2 separate regions of the Homo sapiens genome follow, and region 1 is linked to region 2. Evidence: promoter capture Hi-C in 16 types of primary human blood cells and fetal thymus (Javierre and others, 2016). All regions are on one chromosome and are shown on one strand. The core of a region is centred on a gene start or on the middle of the fragment in contact, and the rest is flanking DNA. Distances in the headings are between cores, read along the strand shown.

Region 1 (3,822 bases), core at 300-2,799, 220 kb before region 2:
CATAGGTTTAGTCACCTTATTAGTATCTAGACAAAGAGTATCTAGCTCTTTCCTTCTCTTCTATTTCCATGCGAGAAATACCGCAGTGCTGTGGATCCTGTCCCTTCCTTTATTCTTTCCTTCAATGAACAGTCTTAAAGGCCTAAGATGCCAGGAGCTATTTCCAAATTCTTGACAGACATTGATCTTTGGGATTTTGGCATAAAAAAATAGGAATTTCTGGGAATTCTCCAGAATTACCAAAATTATAAGTTATTTAAAAAAGATTCTCCAACATTCTTCATGCTCTTTCTTCATTACTATGGATATCTAAAAATTTTTATTTAACAAATAAGAAGAAATATTAAGTTTGGTAGCCTTTGTAAAATATTTGTATTTGGTAATATTTATAAAGCATTTACACTTTGGTAGTAGGTGTAAAAAACTAAAGCTTCCTGGAAATATTCAAATGCTGGAAATCACCAGTGAACCTCACTGGGTAGTATTGACTAATGTAACATCTGATTTCCTCGCAAGGTTAACAGGGCCTCTCAGAATCATCTGTGGGAATTGCCAATTCAAAGACTTTCTTTGTTTCCAAAACTTGTTCTTTCTCTGAATACCATTCATAGAATTTGCATAATGTTTACTATAATATAAACACAGTAATAGTTATTGTATTTGGAGGAGTGACTCACTGTTTGCAGCAGAAAATCCAGGAACACACGTTGATGACAAGACGGTAGCTACAGGCAAGACTGGCCAGTGAGATTGTGGCCACTTCTCTTCTGTGTGCTCCTGTCCCTGTTCCAGGAAATTTTGACCTTAGCCTTGAACTTCGTGTGTCAATGTTTCTTGCTCTTGCTTTTGACATGACATCAGCAGATGCCTTTGACCAGGAATATTTCTATGTTAATTGTTGATCTTTGATTCTCAAAAAAGAATTATAATACTTTTTTTCTATTTTCTCAATTCCTTGATTGATTTTTCTTACTATTTGGGAAACATACATTTCCTGAGAAATGCAGAGAAGGAATTCCTGCATGGAAGCACCAATAGTGGGCGAGTAATGGATGCCACAGTTCTGACTAAAGGCATAGATTTGGGGATTCTGAGTTGGAAGTCTGGTTGTACTTACTGGATGTGTGACCCTGGGCAAATTACCTAACATCTTTGAGCCTCAATTTTCCTATCAGTAAACTTACCTCATTGTTGTTTTGTGGTTAAATGTGTGTGGTTTTGAGGTTGAGTTGTTTTGAGGTTAAATATGTTTGTGAAGCTCTTAGCACAATCTCTGGCATGGTACAAGTGGTAATATATATTGTAGCTATTCAGACACAAGCCCCAGTGAAGGATGCATACTCTAGTGCTATCCAATAGAACGGGAATATGAGATGCAGATGTGAGTTTAAGTTTTCTGATGGCCACATTAAGAAAACAAAAATAAACAGAAGAAATTAATTTTAACAACACACTTAATTCAATAGATCCAAAATATTATTATTCCAGTATGTACTCAATATAAAAAATTAATGATGAGATATTTTGCTTTTTTTGAAACAAAGTCATGAATATCCACTGTGTATTTTATGTTTAGAGCACATCTTAATTTAGGCACTAAATTTTCCCTGGAAATATTTGATCTGTATTTAGATTTCATAAAGTTTACAGAGACTCACATATTCAAGTTGTTTCAAATATACTTACAAGATCCCAAAATCCCATTACTGGGTATATACCTAAGAGAGTGTAAATTGTTCTATTATAAAGACATATGCACACATATATTCATTGCAGCACTATTCACAATAGCAGACATGGAATCAACCTAAATGCTCATCAATTGTAGACTGGATAAAGAAAATGTGGTACATATACACCATGGAGTACTATGCAGCCATGAAGAAGAACAAGATCATGTTCTTTGCAGGAACATGGATGGAGTAGGAGGCCATTATCCTTAGAAAAATAATGCAGGAACAGAAAACCAAATACCACGTGTTCTTTCTTATAAGCGAGAGCTAAATGATGAGAACACATAGACACATAGAGGGGAACAACACACACTGGGGTCTATTGGAGGGTGGACGGTGGGAGGAGGGAAAGGATCAGGAAAAATAACAGTGAGTATTAGGCTTAATACATGGGTGAAAAAATAATCTGTACAACAAACCCCCAGACGCAAATTTACCTGTATAACAAACCTGCACATGTAACTCTCAACTTAAAATAAGAGTTAATAAAGAAAAAAGAAAACAAATTTATCAGTAATGGAATCAAATATCAAAAATTCACTTTTCTTTAATATTCATATTTACATCAAAAAACTGGTTCATCTTTTTTTGAAGAATTAATGTAACTTTGAAGCAAAAACATATTAGTTTCAAAATTACTTCTGTCTGAGTTAAATGACTCTAACTCCTGGAACAACTTAGTATTATTAGCACAGAATTCAAAGAAATATTGCATATATTGAAAAGTAACTAATTTACCTACAAAGCATGCCAACAGCCCATACTTCAAATTTTCGTGTAGTTTTTGCAGTCAACTTAAATTATGCTATTGCTTTCAATTAAAATCTTCATGTTAGAAATATACACAATCATTATTATTGATATTTATTGTAAAAATTATCATCAATTTTAGCATAAATTTTTATACCTGACTAACTAGGTAACAAATAAGCTTTTCTTTTCCTTTCAAATTTAACTCATTCATATGCAGTGTGATAATGCTATATTTTGTCTTTGATGATTTAGTGTTTAGCAAGCATTGCTTTTTGTTAAAGAAAATTTTTGAATTGGAATTAGCACAGCAAATCCTTCTAAAATTCTTCCACCATTCAACCTATAGACATTGGTAAAGAACACAAGATCATTCAATTTACTGTCTTTTAATTTTTAGTCCTTTCCATAAACTGGCAATAATTCACACATTTGCACATGTGTACTGAATGGTTAGAACACCTCTATGTATGACTCTCCCCATAGACGCTTCTTTAGAAGGCTACAGAAAAATATTTTCATAAATGAAAACATTGGCCTCTTGTTTTAGAATTCCAGTGAATCTGGATTTTTAATCTAACATAGCTGGAGCACTGTCTATCATGCTAGAAACTAAATTTTCATGCTTAGCTGAAATTCTTATTTGACAGATACAAAAGATACCTACACCATGAATTTGGTTTTGTAGGGCGTAAATTGACATTTCTTTGTAAATTTGAGAGTCTTTTCAGACAACTTGTACACAAAAAATTAATTGAGCAGTGTATTAGTCTGTTTTCATGCTGTTGATAAAAATGTGCCCAAGACTGGGTAATTTATACAGGAAAAAGGGTTTAATGGACTTGCAGTTCCATGTGACTGAGGAGGCCTCACAATCATGGTGGAAGGCAAGGAGGAGCAAGTCACGTCTTACATGGATGGCAGCAGGCAAAGAAAGAGAGCTTGTGCAGGGACACTCCTGTTTTTAAAACCATCAGATCTCATGAGACCCATTCACTATCATCAGAACATCATGGGAAAGACCCACCCCCGTGATTTAATCATCCACCCAGTCCCTCCCATAACATGTGGGAATTGTGGGAGCTACAAGATGAGATTTGAGTGGGGACACAGAGCCAAACCATATCAGGCAGTATCTTCTATAGTGTACGATTTTACAAAGCTAAAGAAAAGTACTTGGAATTTAACAAATGTTGAATCAGTTGGTTTTTGATATTATTAAAACATCTTGTATTCTATAAGCAATTGTTTGGTGGCTTAATTGAAAATGTCTCATAATTAGTAGAATATCTTTTATGTATTCATAATTTTCTAATAAAATTTCCATAACTTAAGAGTT
Region 2 (3,746 bases), core at 347-2,846:
CGCCCACCAGCTCCTGCTGCTGGTGACGCGCGTCGTCCCGCCGCTTGAGGCGTTTAAATTCCGCCAGCGCGTTGGCCGACGTCTGGTAGAGCAGCAGGGCCATGGCCTGCGCCTTTTCGGGCTTGGACACCAGCACGGCGTGGCAGCGCAGCATCACGGCCTTGTGCTTCAGCTCGTGCCGGTACACCCAGGCGAAGACCTTGGGCAGCCGCGCGTCGGCCACGCAGTAGGTGACGCGGTGCAGCAGGTAGAGGTGGCCCGGGCGGCGCAGCGCGCGCTCCTCGGCGTGCACCATGCGGATACCCTGCGCACTCACCGTCAGCTTCATCTTGGTGCCCTGACGGCCCGCCTCGCTCTTGCTCCAGATCTTGCCCACAGCAAGGTCGGTGCAGCCGTCGCCGCGCGCCTGGATGGTGGTGGCATTGCCCAGGTAGAGCACGGTGTAAGTTGGGTCCTCGCTAGTGATGTGCAGCTTCTTGCGCTTGGAGCGGAACATGCTGCCCACCCGGCTAAGCGCGCCTTCGGGGCACGCCCGCGCCAGCGAGCTGAGCGCCGAGTAGTGCAGGCTCACAGCGTAGCCCTTGGGCTTGGACGCCTGCCGCGGCGGCGCCTCGGCCAGCAGCTCGAACTTGTGCTTCTTCCACGGCAGCATCTCCGGAGGGCGCCCCGGCGCAGCTGGGCGGCGGCGGCGGCGGAGCGCCGGGTGCGAGGCCCGCTGAGCCACCGGCCCCTGCCAGGCTCGGCCCGGGCAAGATCGAAGAATAAAACTACTGGGAGCGGCCCTGTGGTAGGGAGTTGGGGGGAGGGGAGCAGAGAGAGTGCTTAGGAACCCCGCAGGAGGTGCGGGTAAATTCTCTAAAAAAGAAAATATTCAGCTTCGAGTGTGCAAAAAAGGTTGGTGCGGGGGAGACACGCGCGCACACAGAATTACCCCAGCCTGGGCAAGGGCGAGAGCAAAGAGTCTCAGGCAAGCAACAAAATGCAAGGGAGAAAGAACGAGCGTAGAGTGGAAAATGTCAGGAAAAAAGCTAGAAGCGCGCGTGCAAATAAAGAGAGCCCCAGCAACAGCACCCGGGATGGTGCAAGAATATGCAGGAACTCCTCGGCGAACGTGAGGTGGGTCCCCTAACACACACAACCCTCAGGACTGGGGCCAAAACCCGCGGAAACTCTACAGCGAGTGTGCCTAGGGGCCGGTGCTCCCCACCTCCGAGGGGTGCTGGAGATGGAAAGCCCCCCGTTTGGGCTGGTCTCAAGTCAGCAGCTCGCCCAAAGTGCGGTCGGATGCTGGGTCCGGCTGGCCGCGGCGGGCCCCGCGCAGCAGTCCCGCGGGGACTCACTGCATCTTCGCTCCGCCGGACGCCGGGGACTCGCGCTCGGCCCGCTCAGTGTCCGGGCTGGCCTGGCCGAGACGGCGCTGGGCTCCGAGAACAGGGGACGGGCATGGCCGGGTCCGGGAACCGCCGCTACCTCATTTCTTCCCTCCGAGGCGGTGTCCAGCTCCGCTCCCGGGCTCTCCACGGTCTGCTGCCCGCCTTTGCAGTGCGCCCTCTCCGGTGCTGCGAGCGGCGTCCGGCTCGCCTGCCTCACATCCTTGCCGTCCGGGAGGAAGATCTCGGGTAAATATAGGCCGGCGCGAACCATTCGCCGCGCGGGGACAGGGGAGGAGCAGAGAAGAGGATCTGTTTTGGGCTCCGACTCCGGGCGGATTCCTGGTTTCTTAAAGGGACCGCGTGACAGCCATTGGTCGAGGGAGCGGGGAGACCGGTCCAATCCTCCAATTACATCCCAAATTTACCAGCATCTCTTTTGTCTATGGAAATCACTGGGACCTGGGGTTACCCCGCAGCAAAAAGATTTGAATCCTGACACTCCACCCCCCAGGCTGAATTGCCACTCACTGAATACATGTATGTCTAGATCGAAACTTCTGAGGGAGGTGGCAGAAGATGAGATTACAGATTATAATTTCCTGTACAAAAAGTTTGGGAAAATAGTGGTTTCTTCCTTGTGTGACGGCTTTCTGAGAATGACTGGGTGCTGTTTAATATTATTTTCAGAATTGTATTCCATTAAAGAAAAGAGAGAGGCACAGAAAACACCAAGGCTTATCTCTCACTATCTTGAGCTCGTATTCACAGGTAAGCAGCAGACAGTGTAAAGTGAGGTGAGTGGTAACATGATTGGGGTGACTACTGTAGAATACCGTCAATGAATAAGGCTTTTCCCCGTCCGAACCCCGGCAAGACCCCCTCCTGCTGTCAGGCCTCAGGGTAGAGCAGTTTTCTGAGATACACACAATTTCTAATGCTCGTGTGTCGTTAGGACTTAGTTTACTTTGGCAAGCCGGTCATGCGGTTTCATTCTATCATTGACATATTTTGGATGAGAATTCCTAGTAAAAATTCAAATGACGTTTTTTATTTAAGTGACAAATAATGCCAGGCCACCCTCCAATGGGAGTGATAATTGCATCAGTATTGCTTTTATCATGTGCCAACTGGACAGTGTAGTTGTCTTCTGACCGGCTTGACCCTTAGCCAGTAACTCATTTCTGGGCCCTTGAAACAGCCTGCTTGCCTCTATGGTATGGTCAGTCAAAGCAAAAAGACGTATGGCTGGAGTGGGATCAATGTCCGAATGATCCTGCATCAAACTCCCAGCCTGGTCCTGGAGGAGGACAGTGATCCCTTCCCACCATCCCAGTCCCCTGGGGATCTTTGATGTCTCTGGCTTCCACGCCAGGTCTTCATGCCAGAGTCACTGCAACCATACCTGGAAATTCCCTTGGGATATTCCAACAAAATAAAACTGACCCCTGCCCACCCTCTACCTTTGCCAACTTTTAACCTTCCTTTGAAATCTAACTCAATTTTCTCAGAGTCGTTGATGCTGAGTTTCCATTTAAGTTACTTTGCTGAGTTTCCATTTAAGTTACTTTTCTGACTACCTTTTGGTGCCCGGCCCTGAGCTAGGAGCAGACGGGATTCCTGCCTCCTAGTCCAATGAAGGTTGTAAACTCTACCCAACTCTGGGTTTCCACTGGACTGTGGGTTCTCTGCAAGTACCCTGTATCCCCAATATGGTACAAATAGGCACTCAGTAACTAGAATTAATGAGCAAGATATGCATGTGGACAAGAAGACAGAGTGGGCTAAATGCTATGAGAAAGACTCAAAGCACTATGAGAAGCTGGAGGAAGAAAGCATTCATTGTGACTAGGAAAATCAGAAAAGGCTTCATGGAGGTGGTGACCTTTGAAAGATAAACAGAATTTATCCAAATAGGAAAAGACTGAAGGGCTTTATGGGTATAGAGGGTAGCAAAATTACAGAAGCATGAAAATGCATGCATAAGGCCAGGCGCGGTGGCTCACGCCTGTAATCCCAGCATTTTGGGAGGCTGAGGCGGGTGGATCACTTGAGGTCAGGAGTTCAAGACCAGCCTGGCCAACATGGCAAAACTCTATCTCTACTAAAAATACAAAAATTAGCTGGGCATGGTGGTGCACGCCTGTAATTCCAGCTACTTGGGAAGTTGAGGCAGGAGAATCCCTTGAACCCGGGAGGCGGAGGTTGCAGTAAGCCGAGATCGCGCCACTGCACTCCAGCCTGGATGACACAGTGAGACCGTCTCAAAAAAAAAGAAAGAAAGAAAGAAAGAAAATGCATACACATGTAGTAATTAAGATGGAGCTTGTAACAATCAAAGAATAAACCTTCCTGATTGTGTTTTTTGGCTCTCTT

The links. The method cuts DNA at HindIII sites, captures the fragments that hold promoters and counts their contacts. A CHiCAGO score of 5 or more calls a contact.
Region 1: a fragment that was not itself captured here is called in contact with the fragment with the promoter of FAM43A in region 2 in 1 of 17 cell types (naive B cells); the score reaches 6.6 in naive B cells.

The regions. Positions count from the first base shown.
Region 1 is chr3:194,903,254-194,907,075 of GRCh38, reverse strand. No RefSeq gene overlaps it. Among named protein-coding and RNA genes, the nearest start is that of LINC01972, 140 kb to the right of the region's middle. The HindIII fragment of the contact is 2,234 bases long and covers 433-2,666 here.
Region 2 is chr3:194,683,733-194,687,478 of GRCh38, reverse strand. FAM43A (family with sequence similarity 43 member A) reads right to left here and starts at 1,596. Exons shown (of 1, transcript NM_153690.5): 1 at 1-1,596. The coding sequence starts at 652. LOC124909474 reads left to right here and starts at 570. Exons shown (of 3, transcript XM_047449428.1): 1 at 570-1,619; 2 at 2,061-2,141. The coding sequence starts at 1,226. RefSeq lists enhancers at 1-249, 250-755, 1,507-1,866 and a silencer at 577-766. The HindIII fragment of the contact is 4,459 bases long and covers 1-3,746 here.